2 separate regions of the Homo sapiens genome follow, and region 1 is linked to region 2. Evidence: promoter capture Hi-C in 16 types of primary human blood cells and fetal thymus (Javierre and others, 2016). All regions are on one chromosome and are shown on one strand. The core of a region is centred on a gene start or on the middle of the fragment in contact, and the rest is flanking DNA. Distances in the headings are between cores, read along the strand shown. Region 1 overlaps SIK3 (SIK family kinase 3). Region 2 holds the start of SIK3 (SIK family kinase 3).

The links. The method cuts DNA at HindIII sites, captures the fragments that hold promoters and counts their contacts. A CHiCAGO score of 5 or more calls a contact.
Region 1: a fragment that was not itself captured here is called in contact with the fragment with the promoter of SIK3 in region 2 in 9 of 17 cell types (activated CD4 T cells, total CD8 T cells, naive CD8 T cells and 6 more); the score reaches 9.8 in activated CD4 T cells.

Annotation. Positions count from the first base shown.
Region 1 is chr11:117,028,300-117,031,694 of GRCh38, reverse strand. All of the region lies in intron 1 of SIK3 (SIK family kinase 3), which reads left to right. Among named protein-coding and RNA genes, the nearest start is that of SIK3, 68 kb to the left of the region's middle. The HindIII fragment of the contact is 9,274 bases long and covers 1-3,395 here.
Region 2 is chr11:117,096,704-117,099,994 of GRCh38, reverse strand. SIK3 (SIK family kinase 3) reads left to right here and starts at 1,567. Exons shown (of 25, transcript NM_001366686.3): 1 at 1,567-1,852. The coding sequence starts at 1,580. RefSeq lists silencers at 1,379-1,558, 1,639-1,688 and an enhancer at 3,010-3,059. The HindIII fragment of the contact is 6,059 bases long and covers 1-2,709 here.

The DNA of each region.
Region 1 (3,395 bases), core at 872-3,371, 69 kb after region 2:
AAAAAAATTAGCCGGGTGTGGTGGTACATGCCAGTAATCCCAGCTACTTGGGAGGGTGAGGCAGAGAATCCCTTGAACCTGTGCAGTGGAGGTTGCAGTGAGCCAAGATCGCGCCATTGCACTCCAGCCTGGGAAACAAGAGCAAAACTCTGTCTCAAATAAATAAATAAAATAAAAATAAAATAAAATAAAATAAAATGCTGTATTCATTGGCCATTGCCCAACTGATTTTTGATAAAGATGCAGAAGCAATTCAGTGCAGGAAGGATAGCCTTTTAAATAAATGGTGCTGGAGCAACTGGACAGCTATAAGACAAAAAAAAAAAAAGGAAAAAAGGAAAAATCTGACCTAAACTTCACACCTTATAAAAAAATTAACTGAGAGTGGATCATGGACTTAAATGTAAAACATAAAACTAAAAAAAATTTTAGAAAATAACAGGAGAAAATGTTTAGGATATAGAGCTAGGCAAAGAGTTCTGAGACTTGACACCAAAAGTATGATCTAGAAAAGGAAAAATTGGTAAGTTGGACTTCATAAGAACTAAAACATTTTGGTCTGCTAAAGACCATGTTAAAAGGCTGAAAAGGCAAACTACAGACTGGGAGAAAATATTTTTGAACCACATATCCAATAAAGACTACTGTCTAGAATATATAAATAACTCCAAACTCAGTATTAAAAAACCCCAAGTAATCCAATTAGAAAACAGCAAAAGATGTTAAGGAACATTTCACTGAAGAGGATATACAGATGGCATGTAACCCCATGAAGAGATGTTCAACATCATTAGCCGTTAGGGAACTGCAAATTAAAACCACAGTGAGATATCTCAAAATAGAGTTTAATTTTTAAAAAGCCTGGGTGCACTGGCACACACCTGTAATCCTAGTACTTTGCGAGGTTGAGGTGGGAGGATCACCTGAGCCTGGAAAGTCGAGGCTGCAGTGAGCTGTAGTCCTGCCACTGCACACCAGCCTGGGCAACGGGAATGAGACTGTGTCTTAAAACAAATTGTTTTAAAGGAAAAAATAATATCATTAAATTCAGTAAATGCAGGAAAAAAGGCTAAAGCAGAAAAAAACCACATGTGATCTCAATAACTGTATATAACTTCCAGTAACATTTTGTTGTATTTTATACATTTTTTTGCCCTCTGCATTTTTATATTATATAGTTAACTGAATATGCAGTTGTGTCTTGCTTTTTTCACAATACTCAATATCATGAGTATTTTTATCACTTAAAATTATCCATGAATATAGATTTTAAATGGCTCATAATCTTTGTTGTATGGATGTACAGTAATTTATTTAACCATTCCTTTCATATGTTTAAAGTAGTTCCATTTTGTTGCTATTGCAAATAATGCTGTGAGAAACATTTTTGTATGTAAACTTCTGTCAGGATTTCTGATTCCTTCCTTACAATACATTCTTAGAGGTAGAATTACTGTGTCACGACGTGGGCATCTTAGAGGCCTTTGTTAACTATACATTGCCAAAATACTTTGCAGAAATATAGTTTCGATTTATGCCCCTTTTATATTCTTACATTTCTCCTTTCTCTAGGAAAATAAATGTTCATGTTACTCACCTTCACTCAAGGTTTCCAAACACTTTTTCTTGGCTCTCCTCCTACAACTCTGTTCTCAGCTTTCCAAAATTGTTTCTCTTTACTCCTTAGATATCTGGGTTTCCTTAGGTTCTGTGCTCTCCCTCTTCTCTCTATGTATATTCTTCTTTGAGCTAATCAGAACCAGCCCCTTGCCTTCAACTACAGTTTACATCATAATGACTCCTAAATCCCATATCTCTGCTGAGTTTTGGGAACCAGTTCTAACACCATACTAGATATTTTTACCTTATGCTACATAGCCATCACAAATGTAACTCCCTTATCCAAAACTGAACTCATTATCCAACCACACTAACTTCATCTCCACTGATGGCAGTATGACCCATCCAGTGGTAGAAGCCAGAAGTTTGGGAGTTAGCCTAGATTTCTCCTTGAATTTTGTGTACCACTGGTCAATCATTACATTTTAAGATTCTGCTTCCAAAATAGCTCTCTAATTTGTTACCTCCCCTTTCCACTGCCTTAATTTAGGCCCTCATATTTTTTGTACTGCTGCATTGGTGTCTTAACTGATACGCCCATTTCTGACCTAGTTCCATCCCTCAGTTTCATCCTTCACATTAAAACCATTTTGTCTTTTAATTTTTAATTTTATTTTTGAGACAGGGTCTGGCTCTGTTGCTCAGGCTAGAGTGCAGTGGTGCAATCTTGGCTCACTGCAGCCTCTGCCTCCTGGGTTCAATTCATCCTTCCACCTCAGCCTCCTAAGTAGCTGGGACTATAGGTGCTTGCCACCATGCCCAGCTAATTTTTTGTAGATCCAGGGTTTCACCATGTTGCCCAGGCTAGTCTCAAACTCCTGAGCTCAAGTGATCCACCTGCATCTGCCTTCCAAAGTGCTGGGATAGGCTGGGCACAGTGGGTCACACCTGTAATCCCAGCACTTTGGGAGACCGAGGTTGGCGGATCACTTGAGGTCAAGAGTTCGAGACCAGCCTGGCCAGCATGGTGAAACCTTGTCTCCACTAAAAATACCAAAATTAGCCGGGCGTAGTGGCGGGTGCCTGTAATTTCAGCTACTCGGGAGGCTGAGGCGGGAAAATCACTTGAACCCAGGAGGTGGAAGTTGCAGAGAGCCGAGATCACACCACTGTGACAAAGCAAGATTCAATCTCAAAAACAAAATATACAAAATGCTGGGATTACAGGTATGAGCCACCATGCCTGGCCCAGTTTGTCATTTTAATGCATGCATGTCAGCATGTTTCTCACCGTCACTGTCTTCTGTCTCCTGTAAAATAAAGCCTGTTCTCTGTAGCATGGCACCCATGAGCCTGGTCTTGATTTCCTTCCTCCAGGCTACTTTCATGATTTATCCCTGGCCATGCCTGATATGGCTCCCAGTCATGCTGAGCTAGTTTCCTCAACATATTAGAATTGTTTTTCAGGCCTTTATGCTTTTGCTCATGTTTTTTTTTTCCTTGACATGCTTCTTTCTTCTATCCATTTGCCAGATTTCTTTCACATCCTAAGATTCAGGTAACATCATAACCTCCTATGGAAAGCAAGCCCTCTATAGGAATTGTTAAGGGCTTCCTTGTCTGTGTTCCCACTGTGCCATGTACCTACTTCTTTCTGCCACCTCCTACATTGGTGTACTTTTGTTGTTGTTGTTAAGCTGTCCCTATTATACTAGATTGTAACACATGCTTTCTACCGCCTAGAGCAGGAACTGTGTACTCTTAATTGTTTCCTGAGGGCTTGAGATTAGCATCTGGCATGTAGTAGGTGTTTAATAAATATTTCTTGAGTAGAT
Region 2 (3,291 bases), core at 318-2,817:
GATGGAATGAGCTCAGCTGATGAAAGGGCTTAACCAATGCAAGAAGCCAAGGCCCACTTCATTCTTATCTTTAGTTGCTAATAAGGGAGCCAATTAGTGTTAATTGTGTTGGCAGTTTGGAACAGCTACCAGGGAATAGATCCAAGACCATTGTGGGATGACCCCTCTGTCCCATCTTAAGTCCCAGCCATTACTCATGGTTGGATAGGGAATTGGAGCACCAGGAGGTGTTCTTTGGTCAGCGAGTAAACACGAGTTATCCTTCCACACATTTACAGTGCCCTGGGTGTCAGTTTTTAATACTGTGCATGCAGTGACCTCACAATACAGTTCTACCATTGAGAGAGACATAGATATGGATGGATCAGGACTAGTCCAAAGGAATACATTTTAACATTGGAATATTCACAATCTTCCCTCCTTTCCACCCAGCCTGCCAAAGACTATTTTGTTGACAGTCTGATTTCCTACCTGCAACCCTCACCTAAAGCAGCTAAGTTAATCTATTTAATAAAGGGAAGGGGAGAGAGGAGGAGGAAGCCTGGGAGCTATGAAGGATGCAGGTAATAGGCAAGGGAAGAAAAAGAGATATGAAATTGCTGGAGTTATTAACTTGATGACCCTCAATGTCCTCGGAGAGTCACTAGGAAGGATGGAATTTTTATTATTTACTTATTTATTTTGCTTAACCGACTGTTGTTTAAACACGACGTGGTTCATTGGACAATGCGCACCACTGCTTCATCAGGGTTATACAAGCAACAGAAATAGTATGTAGGCACTCTGACAGACATCCCTGTAGAATTGTTCAGAGATGGGGGTGGTAGGAAGGAAAATGACGTACCTTCTTTGGCTGTCACCCACCCAATGACTGGAATGCCTGTTTGGACTGGCTTGTCCGCCCTTGAACACGCAAATCCTAGTTTCCCCATTCTCCTATATTCGGTGACAATTAGGTTGACTGTGCAGGGTGAGCTGGATTTTGTAAGAGGAAGGAATTTTACCGAAGAATTCCCCTGCGTTGTTACCAACTTGGTTACAGTTGCTTCAAGAGTGTAGCTATTCCTGCATTTGTGGCCTCAAGGGCTAAAGTGGGACAACGCTGGTATTTTTGGTGATGAGGAAACACTTTTTTTTTGTTAAGGGAGGTTGGGTGATCGTTGAACTGGGACAGAGGTCACAGCAGAGGTCACATTGGCGATTCGAGCGGCGGTGGGGGGTTGGCTTTGGGTCGGGCATCCTGCGCCCCCCACTCGGGAAAGGTGGCGGAGACTTCGAGGTTGGGGGCCCATCGAAGGTTCCCACCGCCAGCTCCCGGAGGGGGGCACCCGGGAGCCAGCGCCTCAGGAACCGGGGCCCACGCGGGAAGGTCGAGCCCGCCGGTGAGGTCACGGTTGCCATGGCTCCGGGCAGTGACGCGCGTCGGCACGTGACCCGCGGTTGCCATGGAGCCGGGCGCCGGTCGGCGAAAGCGCCCCGCCTCCCCGAGTGACGTCCGCGGCCCCCCCTTTCCCGCCCCCCCTTGCCCCCTCCCCCGAGCCGGCTCCCCGCGGCCCCGGAGGTTTCACTGCACAACAAGATGGCGGCGGCGGCGGCGAGCGGAGCTGGCGGGGCTGCCGGGGCCGGGACTGGGGGAGCCGGGCCCGCGGGCCGCCTGCTGCCTCCGCCCGCGCCGGGGTCCCCAGCCGCCCCCGCTGCCGTGTCCCCTGCGGCCGGCCAGCCGCGTCCCCCAGCCCCGGCCTCCCGCGGACCCATGCCCGCCCGTATCGGCTACTACGAGATCGACCGCACCATCGGCAAGGGCAACTTCGCGGTGGTCAAGCGGGCCACGCACCTCGTCACCAAGGCCAAGGTACCGGCGCAGGGGCCAGGCGGCAGTCGGAGCGTGGCGGGGCCGGGAGAGGTCCGCGCCCCCCAGCCGGGGGGTCGGGGCGGCGAGCGCGGCGCGTGGTGGGAGCGTTGGGGGCCGGGAGGCGGGAGGGAGCCAGCCGCGGCGGGGCGGGCGCGGAGCTAGGGACACCTGGGACTCGAGACGGCGGAACTCCAAGCAGGGGGCCGAGGGCACAGAGCACCGGCGCCCAGGAGCCGGGCGCGGGGAGGGGTCCTCGGGGCTGAGGGCAGGCGGGTAAAGGGGATGATTGGAAAGAAGGGGTCGGAACTCCCCGAGGGCCGGGAGACTGTAAGCCCAGAAGACTCTGGAACCAGCAGCTAGGGAATCATAAGGGAATGAGGGCAGGGGCATATGAAATGTGGACCCGGAGGATGGGGAAAAACAAGGGTGAAGTGGCAGACCCGGGCTTGTAAGGGGACCCAGGACGGCTGGGGCACGGACTGGGAATGTGCACGTCTGCAGGGCGCTGGGAGGTCCCAGGATCCTGGTGCCTTAAGACAGAGACAGGAATCCGCATTTGATCATCTAAGACTGATAGATGGTGCGAAGGGGATCCCGAGGAGACACGATTAGTGGAGGAGGCAATGAGGAAAATGGGGAAATAAGGGGGAAATTGCTTTGCTTGTCCACAGGAAGGGGCCCAGGGAATGGGGGAGTGAGGTGGGGGTGGGGGCTGTCCCAGGTTTATGATGGCACTAGGTAGTCAGGGGTTAAACAATTTGGGAGAGCTGATTGCTGGTTATTTTTAGTTGTTGGAGGGTCGGGAATTGTGGGCTTTGTAGAACCCAGGGTGGGCTTTTACTGGTTGGGGGGAAGCTTGTGATTGAAGAACCCAGACACCGGGAGATTACACTCATCGAGCCCTTAGTTCTCAAAGGGATTTGAGGCGCTATAGGAGTGAAATTGGCCAAGGTCAATTAGGAAGCTATATATGTATGCATGTAAAATTCTTTGAGGAAATATGGTAGCACTTTCATGTAGCCTTCGTTGGGAGGACTGGAATCTAAGACATCAGGAGGAATCTTTTGGTTTTGGTGGAACCCGCAAAGCCCATTTTTACTCTAAAATTTTCTTTGCTCAATATCTTACTTGAATGAATACTTTTAATGTAGTCATTCATTATGTTTAGAACTGCAGCTTGTGTTTTCCCTCAGCCTGAGGAATGAAGAACCCTTACAGCTGCTGCCGCCTCCTACCAAAGCCACATCAATTCCCCTCACCTCCTCAGCCTAGCCTCTGGTTGTCATGACCTACCTTGTTTTTGCTTTTTTGGCAGTGGCTTGTTTTCTGAAGCCAGTGACTTATCTAGGCCTTCTCTCCTGATCACTTGCAACCTGAAGTTCCTTCCCCACCATCTTTCTGCCTGAGGCTACAAGGGGCCCTTCTTACCAGGGTGTCAG